Linked DNA regions of Homo sapiens: all the other regions are linked to region 3. Evidence: promoter capture Hi-C in 16 types of primary human blood cells and fetal thymus (Javierre and others, 2016). All regions are on one chromosome and are shown on one strand. The core of a region is centred on a gene start or on the middle of the fragment in contact, and the rest is flanking DNA. Distances in the headings are between cores, read along the strand shown. Region 1 overlaps TMEM237 (transmembrane protein 237). Region 2 holds the start of NDUFB3 (NADH:ubiquinone oxidoreductase subunit B3). Region 3 holds the start of FLACC1 (flagellum associated containing coiled-coil domains 1).

Region 1 (4,524 bases), core at 1,356-3,855, 280 kb before region 3:
AATGGAAAATGAAGACAGTGGAAAAATTGACTAGTATCATTGCAAAATTACAATGATTCAGGAAACTCTTCTGAAAAATTTAGGGATTTTCTGAAATTTTAAAGGTGAAAAATCCTTGAATTTTAAGAATAACAGTTATAATGGAATGTTATATTTAAAAGCCTGAATATCAACATGGTAGGATAATGGATCCATTCCCTTTCTAACTGTTTTGGTGTCTTTTTTTTTTTAAATCAGAATTCTGGTCTTTTGTGAGAATAGTTTCCTCAGAGTTTAAGCTGATTTTAATCAGTCACAAGTAAGAGTTCTTAATCTGCTTAATCCATTTTATTAATAGACAGTAGGGAATATGTATATGTAGGTTCAGAAAATATTGACATTATTTTATTAGCAGTGTTATTAAACCACTTAATTATAAACAGTAAACTAGTTTGTAAACTAGCTATTATGTGAAAGCTAATTTTATTTTAAATTTGTAATGATTTAAGTCAATTTTCACTGTGAATATTAACAGGTTTCTAATTAATTGTTTCTTTTTTGTCTTTGTCCTGCTGATTAAATTTGTTTGGTGTTATATGACGTGTTAGTCAAGGTGAGTTAGTTTAATGTAAATATAATATTTGGTGTTCAAAAATTAGTTTGATTCCTTGGTTTGTTTCTCTTAAAACTGAGTCTGAATGGTGTAATTTGTAATTCTACAATATGTTTTTGTGAAATAATCTCCCATGACTACCATTTAAAAATTGTCATTGATACATAGCACTAGATGACCTTTCCATTATAAAAGCACTTCATCCCTGAATGGGGTCACCCAGCACATAACTGTTGGCTAATTTGTAGCTCTATAATGAGGACTGCACCTTCCTTTGTCTCATTTAGTCAGGGTAGACAAGGTTATACTATACTAAAACCCCCAAATCTCAGTGACTTAGTGTCACACAGGGTTATTTCTAATTAATACAAAGTCTGCTATGGCAAAAATGGGGGACCATTACCTTTCACTACCTTTTTACTATTGATATAGCAATCTAGGCTACTTTTTTTTTTCTTTTGTTTTGAGACAGAGTCTCACTCTGTTGCCCAGGCTGGAGTGCAGTGGTGTGATCTCGGCTCACTGCAATCTCTGCCTCCTGGGTTCAAGTCATTCTCCTGCCTCAGCCTCCTGAGTAGTTGGGATTACAGGCGTGTGCCACCATGCCCAGCTACTTTTTGTATTTTCAGTAGAGACAGGGTTTTGCCATGTTGGCCAGGCTGGTGTCGAACTCCTGAGCTCAAGTGATCTGCCTGTCTTGGCCTCCCAAAGTGTTGGGATTACAGGTGTGAGCCACTGCGCCTGGTCTGCAATCTAGGCTACTTCTGTGCTGTGGTCCCACCATCTTAACATGAGGCTTCCTCAGTCACCACAACAAGGGAAGAGAAAGCTGGAAGATTACTCACTGGCTCTTTCAACGTTTGGCTCTGAAATGACACAGATCACTTCTGCTCACAGCCTATAGGCCAGAACCAGTCATAGACTACACCTATGTGCAAGGAGGCTGGGAAATATAGGGGATCAGATGAATATTTGTTGAACCCACTTTCTGTGTCATGGTTTCTAACATTACTGACATGCAGTGTGCTACTGGTACCACACTGTGGGCTCTCTCTGATCTTCTCAATTTCTTGCCTTCTTCCCCTAATCTATAAACGTTTGCCAGGCCCAGGGAAGAGAGGGAGAATTCTTCCCTGTTTAAAAGTTCTCTTCTGACTGTTCTCTGCATTGAATTTTAGGCACCCTTTTCTGTTGACGTTTTTTCTTGCTTTATAGATGATATTCCACTTAGTCGTCCTAAGAAAAAGAAGCCCAGAACAAAAAACACACCAGGTAAGACGTTATTCTTTGTTGTGTGGGATCACAAGTTTTCCCAGGACCTCAGGCGTAGTAAACATCACAGATAAGGGAGAATTAAGGCCCCAGCAGCCCCGAATCTCCACTTCATTGAGGATAGAATTAAGGCCAGTTTGAAGCAGTGGAATTCCTGGTGGTGGTGAGGTACAGGGCAGTGGGCAGCCTGAGGAGTATCTGGACGCATTCATGGAATAGAAGGTGGTGCCATCTAAGCTCCTATTTCCATGATATTCCTGGACTCTTTAAGGTCTTTTATCCCCAGACAACATACATGGTTTTAAGCTATGATTGATTCCAGACCCTTGAACAAGATACTGAATTTAGAAACACAGAGTTCTTAAATCTCACTTCAATCAGAATATCTCTACATTACAGCATGAGTCTGAAGGCATGGCCACATCATCATTTAAATAGTAAAGCTTCAGTCATGAGCAGAACTCGTTTTTGTCTTAGTCATCCACTGATAATCCTGGAAGTTGCATCCGTAACTCTAAACTCAGCACATCTAGAATCCATCGTTGCCTTTAAGAATAAATAATTTTTTTACGTCTCATGATTTTCTGTTAATGGAACCTACCATTTTCCCAGCCCTCAGGCCTGAAACCTCAAGATTATCTTTACCTGATCCTTTAACTTCACTCTTTACTTGAGACCTCTCACACTCCTAAAAGGTTTCTGTGGTTGCTGCTCCTTTTTTAAAACAAACAAACAACAACAAAAACATAAAAGGAATCATACATACTATCTTTGTTTCTTAATACATAGAGTTCTATGTATTCTTAAACAGTGACTTCATTGTATTACATGATAAGAATGTACCATAATCACTGCTCTGTTATTTATTTAGGTTATTTCCAATTTTTCACTCCAACAATGTTGCAGTTCTGCATAAAATAGTGGGTGGTAGGGAAGAAGTACTTCTGTAGGATGGATTGCTAGCAGTGGAATTGCTAGGTGCAGGATGTGTGCATTATTAGTATGACTGACTCTGCTAAATTACCTTAAGGAAGCTTTAGTTATTATCTTGCTACCTGTAGAGTCTGAGAGTGTCTCATTCTCTAAATCCTTAACAACATTGGACAATAATCAATCTTTAAAATTTTTTTGTTAATTTAGTGGGGGAAAAGTAGCTTATTTTAGTTTACATTTCTCTATGTACTACTGAGGTTAAACATTTTCATTTGTTTATTGATACATTTCTATTTTTTTTTTTTTTTTTTGAGACGGAGTCTTGCTCTGTTGCCCAGGCTGGAGTGCAATGGTGTGATCTTGGCTCCCTGCAACCTCCACCTCCTGGGTTCAAGCGATTCTCCTGCCTCGGCCTCCTTGAGTAGCTGGGACTACAGGCGCATGCCACTACACCCGGCTAATTTTTGTATTTTTAGTAGAGAGGGAGTTTTGCCATGTTGGTCAGGCTGGTTTCGAACTCTTGACCTCATGTGATCCGCCTGCTTTGGCCTCCCAAAGTGCTGGGATTCCAGGCATGAGCCACTGCACCCAGTGCAATTTCTATTTCTTTTGTGAAGAAGACAAGCAAGGAAGGGAATGCAGTCAGGTATGTGTTAAAATTCTTTTAAAAGATTTCATGAGGGAAGAAGTTGAAGTGAATGACCAAATGAAGAGACTTATAAATTACCTGCTAACTCCAATTATCCATGATGACTTTATTATTCTTTAACTTATTAATGAAGGACTTTACTATATAGAGGCTGATGAAAATTCTTAAGGCAAGAGGCAAGTAAGAGAATTCTCTATGGTATCAGTTTTTATTATGTTTTCCACCTTTTTCAAAGTTCTAAATGTTCTGAAGCAATTTCTCCTCCTCCTGTCTTTTGCTCTTCTTTTTAGCCCCCTCGTTTTTTCTTCCTCAGCCTTTCTTATTCCTTCATTTATTTCTTTTCCTAACTTAAAGCCCAAAGTTACAGGTGAGGAGGAAGGAAAGATTTGGGGGATAATTAGTTCTGAAAGAGATGGGGTTATTCTATAGGAAACATTCTAGTTACCTTTTCCTCCATCTTTTTAAGATTCAGTGATCTTTGCTCAAGTAATCTCATTTTTTTCTACTCTGTTTTTCTATAGCAAGTGCTTCTTTGGAAGGCCTTGCTCAGACTGCTGGTCGAAGGCCCTCTGAGGGCAATGAGCCATCAACTAAAGAACTCAAAGAGCACCCAGAGGCTCCTGTTCAAAGAAGACAGAAAAAGACAAGGCTACCTCTTGGTATGTGAAGAAACCAAGGTTAAGTTGTGATAGCACTTGTGATTTTGATGACATGATAAAAACCTCTCTGCTTTCATTTCTTTCCCCCTATCCATATCCCACAGGTGGTTTCTTGCTTTTATGTTTAAAATATTTACCACTAGAATAACTCCAATGGCTTAAGCCAAGAATACTTTACAGGTCTCTTTTGATCATATATGTATAGATTATGAGAGGAGGGCAACAAATACAGGACTAAACAGAAAGTTCAGATCTCAGTGCATAGAAAAATCTAGTAAATGATGAAATGGACATTTCAGATTAGTGGGGAAATGGTAGATTCTGTACTAACAATAATATAGTGAAACAACAGCTAACATTTGTTTAGTCTTTCTATGTCCCAGGCAGTTCACAAGGTAAATAAAATACTATACCATTTT
Region 2 (4,999 bases), core at 957-3,456, 290 kb after region 3:
CTGAGGCAGGTGGAACACCTGAGGTCAGGAGTTCAAGAAAAGCCTAACCAACATGGCAAAATCCCGTCTCTACTAAAAATAAAAAAATTAGCTGGGCATGGTAGCACATGCCTGTAGTTCCAGCTATTAGGGAGGGTGAGACAGAAGAATCACTTGAACCTGGGAGGTGAAGATTGCACTAAGCCGAGATCGCGCCACTGCACTCCAGCCTGGGCGACAGAGCGAGACTCTGTCTCAAAAAATATACAAATAAAATAAATAAATAAAAGTGTCTTTGGAACAATTTGGATATATGAATCTACTTTATCAACTGTAAATCTTATAAACATAATCACAGATCAAAGGTTTATATTTATGGAATATAAAAAATATATTTAAAATATTTTCTTAGAGACATCAAGCCTCTAGTCTTTAAAAAAAAACAAATTTTTTTTTTGAGATGGAGTATCACTCTGTCGCCAGGCTGGAGTGCAGTGGGTGGTGCAATGTCGGCTCACTGCAACCTCCGCCTCCCAGGTTCTAGTGATTCTCCTGCCTCAGCCTACCGAGTAGCTGGGATTACAGGCGTGCACCACCACACCCGGCTAATTTTTTGTACTTTTAGTAGAGACTGGGTTTCACCATGTTGGTCAGAATGGTCTCGATCTCTGGACCTCATTATCCGCCTGCCTCGGCCACCCAAAGTGTTGGGATTACAGGCGTGAGCCACCGTGCCCAGCCTAAGAAATATGTTTTTAAAAGAACCTTTATAGCCACATTGTTTATTCTCTCTCCCAACTGTAAACAACCCAAATGTCCAATAACAATAGAAGGGATTATGGTATAGTCACACTGTAGAATATTATACAACAAAAAACTACATGCAAAAGTGTGATTGAATCTCCACAAATATGGATAATGAGCAAGGGGTGAGTCAGAAAAAAATACACATGCACTCTGAACCCATTTATATAGATTGAAATGCCTAACAATTCATTTTTTAGGAATTCATCATAGACGGAAAAATTAAAGTAAAACAAGTGAGTGCTTAGCACAAGTCAGGATAATGGTTACCTCTTGGTGGAGGAGATGGAATCACAGAAACATACTGGGAGATTCTAAGGCAGTGTTTTTCAACCAATTTTTAACTATTGTCCCTGTAAGGAACCTTTCTAGACATTTTATTCCTAATCACACCCCCCGCCATGAAAATTTAACACTACATATATACTGTATAACTGTTTATATACTGTGGCCCTTTGGAGGGACACAAATCATTGTAGTAACTAAGATTCCGACCCCGGCCCCACCAATTTTCAACCCCTTGAAATGTAAAATCACCCCTGTTAAGACTGCATGTTCTAAGTTATTGGCAATGCTTTATTTTCTAATCTAAGAGGTGGATACAGGAGTGTCTGCTTCTGTTAGTTATAATTTTTTAAAATGTATGTTTTATACACCCTTCTGTATATATACTTGACAATAAAAAATAAAAATAGAAAAATTGACTTAAATTGTGCTGAGGACTGAAAAATGGTGGTTATTTCCGTTTCAGAGCAGCTCAAATAATAACAGTAAGGAAATTAGTTAAATAAAGAAAAAACATGCAACCAAAAATTTTAAAAGCTATCTATGTCTGAAGTGAATCTAAAAGTCTCATGAAGATCAACCTCCACTAAAGGAAGCTGGCTCTAAGAAAATGTGCTGGTATCCTTTCCCTAAGAAAGAAATAAGAAGATAATGCTACTTCCACTACATGCAATTTTAGTTTACCGAAGACTATCAAGTATATATCTTAACTTCCTCGTATTAAAAACTGTGATTATATGAATATTAGAACATAAAAAACAAATGAACTGTTATTACTTTTAGTGATGCTGTTCTTCTGCCTTTGCGATCCAAAGGCAAACAAAGACAATTTTGCGTGTGGCAGAAGCGGGAACAAGCACCTGGATTTAACAACTACAGTAATGATCACTGAATCCTCCAACCACCTCTTCCTACCCCAACTCTAAACTAGGACTTCATTAGTTCTCGCCTGCTAGTTCTTTGATCTCCCTCCCAGCCTCCCATCCTTCTCCATTTAGTCTCTCCTTTTCTGCACTCCCCAGAATAGAGTCTAGCTCTTAATCCTAATCAACGGGCCTCCCACCAACTCCCTAATTTACCTGACAGCAATCTGACCTCTCAGGACACTCAACTCTGCAACCGGAGCCAACCGGAAACGGAGGTTGTCACCTCGAGTTTCTCACGGCAGGAAAGCGGAGAAGCCGCTTAACGTTCCGATACTGGGTTAGAGATTCCTGAATCAGGTAGAGACTACATGAGGGACGCTGGAAGTCGATTATTTTCCCAGTATATGTGCATCCTCAATCTGACTGAGGTAACAGATACTGTAGAAAAGAGAAGGGCGGGGAAGATAATATGTTGTCCTTGCTTGGGGACGGAATCCTTAGACACCGCACACAGGGCGGGGCTGCCGGCATACTGCAGCCAATAAGGGAGGCTGTTGTTGAGAGCGTGTTCTCACCCAATGAGAGGGTTGGTTGTTGCGCTGCAGTTGGCAGGCTGCTGCGGGAGGCGGCGGCGGTAGGAAGCCGGAGACAGCAGGGTGACAGGTAGGCGGCGGTGCTGTCTTTGGGGGAGGCAAAGTGCTAGATGAAGAGGGGTTTTCTTCTCCTTCGGCCGCGGAAACTACAGACGGGAGCTGGCGAGGGTGGTCTGGAAAGGCGGTAGCCGGTGTGTTGGTGGTCCCGGAACCTCTCGTAAACCAGGTAGCATCTTGGGAGGGTCGTGAGGAGGAGAAGGCGGCAGCCGAGGCGGGTGGAAGCCGAGCCTTGTGGGGCGACGTGGGGGCCCACCTAGGGCGTGGGGGCTGCGGTGGCGCCAGCAGAGAGGGAGGAGAGGCGGGAGCAAGGCGGTGTCGTGAGGGCTGAAGGGATTCTTTGCACAAAGCCCCAGGCGAGAAAAGGACACGGCATTGAAGACAGTTAAGAGAAATCCCAGTGATTGCTTCTTAGGGCCATTTCCTGGGGGTGGTGAGGGGGAGCGGAGAAGAAAAATATTTACTGGCGGTCAGATTCTGAACACTCATTATTGCTGTACATTATGTAATCTTTGGCTGTTATTTACCCAAACAACTAGGTTGTCCCTCCTGGGAGAGGAGGTCTTGCAACCTATTAATGTGTTAGAACACTTTTTTCATTGGCTTGAGTGCCATTTACATTGGCAGGTTCTCTAGGCGAAGGGTGGTAGCATGGAGGATAGAGTAGTCACGAAGAGCTTATCCCAATTATGGACTTGACAGATACTAGTTTGCGATGAATGTGGCCAGGTTCATGTTTTGTAGTTCGTGAATTTATTTGAGGGTCAAGGCTGACAACATTTTTTAAAGATCTTCAGAAAAGTGGGGAATCCTTTAAAAATGTACAGTAGGAGCTCAGTGTAAGTTGGAAAATGACTAGAAAATTAGTTGGTAGATCCCTTCCTCCCCCCAGGATATTGTGGAAGTTAGGGACTGTGCAAATAAGGTGGTGGTCTGAATATGGGGAAAAAAATAAACTTTTTTTTTTTTTGAGACGGAGTTTCGCTGTTGTTGCCCAGGCTGGAGTGCAATGGCGCGATCTCGGCTCACAGCAACCTTCGCCTCCCGGGTTCAAGCCATTCTCCTGCCCCAGCCTCCGGAGTAGCTGGGATTACAGGCATGCGCCACCACGCCCGACTAATTTTGTATTTTTAGTAGATACGGGGTTTCTCCATGTTGGTCAGGCTGGTCTCGAACTCCGGACGTCAGATGATCCGCCCGCCTCGGCCTCCCAAAGTGCTGGGATTACAGGCGTGAGCCACCGTGCCCGGCAGAAAAAAGTCAACTTTTAAGTAGTTTGTTCTGTAAGCAAGTCTGAGAAGCTACTTATGAATTATTTATTAGGTTTAAAAAGTGGACTCTGAACCTCTCGGACAGAGGCAAAATATATTTATAGATATAATTAACTAAATTATCTTATTTAAAAAAATTTTATAATTCATTGTTTCCACAATAAAATGTAGAATTAAAATAGGAATTCTATTCAGTATGTGTTATGGAAGGGCAAACGACATAAAAACTTGATTTTGTAGGTCATTGAAAAACAATTTTGAGAGCAGCACTGGAAAATGATTTTAAAAGAAGTGTTATAAATTTCTAAAATGTAAGGTGTTTGAAATATTGCCTTTAGCTTAGGAGATAAGGTCTAATGTAGTGTCAGCAACTCTACAATTTTCCTAAATTTATTTCGGTACTGCATGTCAGAAAAACTTTATAAGATGTGATTTTTTTCTATTAATGGTAATTTATATTCCTATATATGAACCTAAATCAAAATTTCATTTTTTCTCAAAAATTTAATTGGGAAAGAGGTGCATCATTAAAGTTGTTTGTTCCCAGATGTTCTCAGTACTGAGACATTTGTCAGTGCTTTAGATAAAAATTTTTATTGATGTTTGGTGTTTTGTTCTTTGTCTTTTCTCCTTTTCCAAGAATAATGCAATCTCAGTCACAAAGAAAATTTCTGGTTCTATTTTAGGTGGAATTCTGTAGTGTTTTGAGTACCAGTTAAATCTTTGCTTTTATGCGTGTGTGTGTGTGTGTTGCTTTTATGCGTGTGTGTGTGTGTGTGTGTGTGTGTGTGTGTGTGTGTGTGTGTGTTTCTTCTTATGTAACCAGCCTACTAGAGCTGTCTTAGAGAACTAATGGCTGATTTTGAATGGCCAGTAGGTGTCATTGTAGAATGCAGTAAGTTGAGTATCGAGTAGGAAATTACCAAGTAGCTAAAGAAACACTAGTCCAAATTAGCATATAGTGTGGTTAGATGATCGTTTATACGTTATAGAAGTTCTCTCTGATGAAACATTTCAGTATTGGAGCTGTTTATAAGGAATTTGAAACAATGATTGTAAAGGAGTTTAATTGTTTGCCCTAAAATAGACCTTGAAAGTGTGTTTTTTAGCCCGGCCCTTTAACTGTCTTGACATGCAATTCAGA
Region 3 (4,357 bases), core at 734-3,233:
GTCACCACTTGTCTATTAGTCTCCCTGCACCTCAACATATCCAAAACTGAACTAATAATCTGCTCCCTAGAACCTGTTTATCCCTCCACACTTTCCTATCTCAATAAATGGCACCACGGTCAACTCAATTGCTCGAGCTGGAAAGCCAGGAATCATCACCTTCTCCTTTTCGCTCATCCCAGCATCCAGTCAATCACCAAGTTCTATCATGTCTTCTCTCCATCCCCACTGCTGCTCCTCAGTCAGGGCCATCGTCAGGTCCCATGACGACCACTGCCACAGACTTTTACCTGGTTTTCCTGGCCCTTCCAATTGCTTCCCTATATTGCAGTCAGAATGATCTTTCTGATATGTAGATCTAGTCAGATCTCTTCTCTGTTTAACACTGCTGCCTGACTCACTGGACTAGAAGAGTAACTCCTGCTATGAACTCCCACTGCTTCTGGCAAGTCTCAATATGAGTCATTGTGGCTGCATGGTGACTTACACCTGTAATCCCAGCACTTTGGGAGGCCGAAGCAGGAGGATCACTTGAATTCAGGAGTACAAGACCAGCCTGGACAACATAGCAAGGCCTCATGTATACTAAAAGTCAAAAAAATTAGCTGGGCGGCCGGGCGCAGTGGCTCACGCCTGTAATCCCAGCACTTTGGGAGGCCGAGGCGGGCGGATCACGAGGTCAGGAGATCGAGACCATCCCGGCTAAAACGGTGAAACCCCGTCTCTACTAAAAATACAAAAAAATTAGCCGGGCGTAGTGGCGGGCGCCTGTAGTCCCAGCTACTTGGGAGGCTGAGGCAGGAGAATGGCGTGAACCCGGGAGGCGGAGCTTGCAGTGAGCCGAGATCCCGCCACTGCACTCCAGCCTGGGTGACAGAGCGAGACTCCGTCTCAAAAAAAAAAAAAAAAAAAAAAATTAGCTGGGCATGGTGCTGTGCACCTGTGTAGTCCCATCTACTTGGGAGTCTGAGGCAGAAGGATCGCTTGAGTCCAGGAGGTCAAGGCTGCAGTGAGCTATGCATGCAGCCTGCACTGCCACTGCCACTGCACCGCAGCCTGGGTAACAGAGTGAGCTACTGTCTCAAAGGAAAAAAAAATTAATTATGCTTTTATTGAGCTTTTTTATTGTCTGTTTTCTCATTGGTCTCTAAGTTGTATTGAGTATAAGAACTGAGGTATATCCCCACACCTAGCAATAGTGCCTGGCACACAGTAGACAACAAATGTGAAGTTGAGTGAATAGATGAATTTATAACAATATTTTGTAAGCTAGGGGTTGTGACCCACCAGGATCATGAAATCAATCTAGTGGATTATAATCAGCTTTAATTTAAAGAAGAAAAAGAAATAGAAGAGAATAGCAAATAATAAGAGTATTATTTCATGAAATTTTTTTATTACAAAATTTGTAAAATGTATTTCTTATAATGAGTGGCAGTAAAACTAAAATGAAAGCCACTGGGTTGTAATAAGCAAGTACTTTTTTCTATAGTAAGAAAAAGCAGCTTTATTTAAAAAAAAAAATCGGAAAACCTTGTGACTGCAAAAGATTCCTGCCTTGGGGGATTTTTACTTTCACAGATTTCAAAGCCTTAAACTCGAGGGAAAAAAGTGTCTAGAGTTTTAGGTTTCTGTGAGTAGATCACAGAGGAATTAAAAATCCATCACAGATCCTGCCTGGTAACTATTGCCATAGACCAATGAAGCCTAAAAGTGCTGTTGAATTCTATTTCCTCTGAAGATATATCTTAAACTTTTTTGTCCCATGACTGATGACGAAAGTGGAAATCCAGTGTTAAAAGTATGAATTCTTTGCTGTTGAGGGTGGTCACTGATTTGTGTCTTGGAGAATTTAATTGGCTGTTTCTCCCAACCTTCTCTCTTGAAGAAAAGAGCCCTGAGCCAATGAGGAGCTACTGTTCTGTGTCCATAGCAACAAAATAAACAAACTTTGGCCTGCCATCTCCCAAGGGCAAACCTCACAACTCAGGCCCAAGTCACAGGAATCTGAATGGTGGGGTGACCTTCTCCTCTAGTTTAATTTCATTGCAATACTGAGAAACTTCAACTGTTTTGTCTTTAGAAGGGAAATTCATGTTTGTGCCAGGCCAGCCTTTGTAAAAGCCTTTGATTGGATTCACTAGAAGTCTGTCTTCCCGCAGTACATATACTGTGAATTTTCTCCTTCGGCATTTCAACCACTTGGAATGGCCACTAAAGTGGCTTTTGATCTAAAGTAAACTCTGATTCTGTGTTGATGGGGAACCATTTCTCTCTAACATGGTGGTTTCTTTAAGATGTTTGACTTGGGCCACATGAGAATAACAGATCTTTGGGCAGTCCAAGGTAAGCTCTTTGGAAAAGATGTTTTATATTATTTTTTCTACTGATTATTAATACTAACCAGTAACTTCTCTGAAGCCTCTGCCGGCTCACTGGTGACTATTGTTAGGGCAAGCCTCAGGTAAAATCATCAGGTAGAAGTGCAGGAAAGGGAAAAAAGGGGGAGAAAAAATCCTTACACACACTCACACACCCCTCTATAATTAGAGCTATATGATGTCAAGCCACTGTAAATGCAGATCTATCTGTGATGACATGGAAATATCAACTAGATATCCTGTTACACAAAAAGAACAAGATGCAACATTGTGTGCAAAGTATGCTCTCACTTATGCAAATAATTTAAAAAATCTATTATGCTTCTCTACAGGTTAAGTTCTATATGCAAAACATTTAAGGTTATATGCACTCACAACATTTCTGGAAGGATGCCCCAAAAATCTGTTAGAAGTAGTTCCCACTTAAGAAGCTATGAGAAGTCAAGGGCTGATTTTAGCTACTGAAATATTAAAATACTGCCATATAGGCAGGGCACGGTAGCTCACACCTGTAATCCCAGCACTTTGGGAGGCTGAGATGGGTGGATCACCTGAAGTCAGGAGTTTGAGACCAGCCTGGCCAATATGGTGAAACCCCATCGTTATAAAAATACAAAAATTAGCCAGGCATGGTGGCGGGTGCCTGTAATTCCAGCTACTGGGGAAGCTGAGGCAGGAGAATCGCTTGAACCTCGGAGGTAGAGGTTGCAGTGAGCCAAGACCACACCATTGCACTCCAGCCTAGGCAACAAGAGCAAAACTCCGTCTCAAAACAATAATAATAATAAATAAAATACTGTCATATTGATTGGTAGATGACCATTGTCCAAGCCCCTTGCATGTCCTCCTTGCCACCTTGGTTGTCCCAACTCCTCCCCTGGCACCCCCAGACCACCTCATGATTCAGCAACTAAGGGGTTAATGCCTGGCATGGAGGTGGGAGTGAGATCTCCCAGGACCCTGTTCCAACCCTGGTTGATTATTCAATAGCCTTGTCTTACTGGTTGTTAAATATTTTGAGTATCACTCCCATGGGTGTTCAAAGAAAAAGGCCTTTATTTTTATTTTATTTATTTATTTATTTTTTAGAGACAGGGTCTTGTGCTGTCACCCAGGCTGAAATGCAGTGGTGTGGTCCTAGCTCACTGCAACTTCAAACTCCTGGCCTCAAGTGATCCTCCCGCACCACCTGCCAAGTGGCTGGGACTACAGGCACACTCCACCATACTAGGCTATTTTTAAAATTTTTTGTAGATACAGAGTCTCGATATGTTTCCCAGGCTGGTCTCAAACTCCTAGCCTCAAGCGACTCTCCCACCTCAGTCTCTCAAAGTGTTGGGATTACAGACATGTGCCACCACACCTGTGAGGCCTTCTTTTTTTTTTTTCTTAAGAGCAAAAGAATATATACCAAGACATTGTTTATCATGGGAAAGAGGAAAAGGAAACAACTACACATTCATCAAAGATCATTGAAAATCTATGTAAAACTCCACTGAGTGATTGTATCACCCATACAATTTACCTCTGCTTTCTGGCTTTTGAATGCAAATGTTTAATGTTATTTATAATATGGTAATGACGATTACAACATTTTGGCAGTTTCATCTGTGAATCTCTTTTCTCTTTGTTTTTGTTTTTTGTTTTATTCATTTATTTATTGAGACAGAGTCTTGTTCTGTCATCCAGGCTGGAGTGCAGTGGTGAGATCTCGGCTCACTGCAACCTCCACCTCCCAGGTTCAAGTGATTCTCCTGCCTTAGCCTCCCGAGTAGCTGGGATTACAGGCATGTGCCACCATGCCTGGCTAATTTTTGTGTTTTTAGTAGAGACGGGGTTTCGCCCTGTTGGCTAGGCTGGTCTCGAACTCCTGGCGTCAAGTGATCCTCTCGCCTTGGCCTCCCAAAGTGCTGGAATTACAGGCATCAGCCACCATACCATCTTTTTCTCTTTGTTGAGCTAGCCCCAACCACCAT

The links. Contacts are between HindIII fragments. The CHiCAGO score rates a contact against its expected background, and 5 or more counts as called.
Region 1: a contact is called between a fragment that was not itself captured here and the fragment with the promoter of FLACC1 in region 3, in 2 of 17 cell types (endothelial precursors and erythroblasts). The highest score is 5.9, in endothelial precursors.
Region 2: a contact is called between the fragment with the promoter of NDUFB3 here and the fragment with the promoter of FLACC1 in region 3, in 13 of 17 cell types (total B cells, naive CD8 T cells, neutrophils and 10 more). The highest score is 18.8, in total B cells.

What each region holds. Positions count from the first base shown.
Region 1 is chr2:201,636,329-201,640,852 of GRCh38, reverse strand. It overlaps TMEM237 (transmembrane protein 237), which reads left to right. Exons shown (of 13, transcript NM_001044385.3): 3 at 588-592; 4 at 1,808-1,864; 5 at 3,968-4,105. Among named protein-coding and RNA genes, the nearest start is that of TMEM237, 4.9 kb to the left of the region's middle. The HindIII fragment of the contact is 591 bases long and covers 2,310-2,900 here.
Region 2 is chr2:201,069,208-201,074,206 of GRCh38, reverse strand. It overlaps NDUFB3 (NADH:ubiquinone oxidoreductase subunit B3), which reads right to left and starts at 2,206. Exons shown (of 3, transcript NM_002491.3): 1 at 2,148-2,206. It overlaps HYCC2 (hyccin PI4KA lipid kinase complex subunit 2), which reads left to right and starts at 2,536. Exons shown (of 13, transcript NM_001321623.1): 1 at 2,536-2,597. RefSeq lists enhancers at 1,684-2,307, 2,444-2,533, 2,554-2,823, 2,308-2,933, 2,924-3,063. The HindIII fragment of the contact is 13,158 bases long and covers 1-4,999 here.
Region 3 is chr2:201,354,971-201,359,327 of GRCh38, reverse strand. FLACC1 (flagellum associated containing coiled-coil domains 1) reads left to right here and starts at 1,983. Exons shown (of 15, transcript NM_001127391.3): 1 at 1,983-2,346. The HindIII fragment of the contact is 10,294 bases long and covers 1-4,357 here.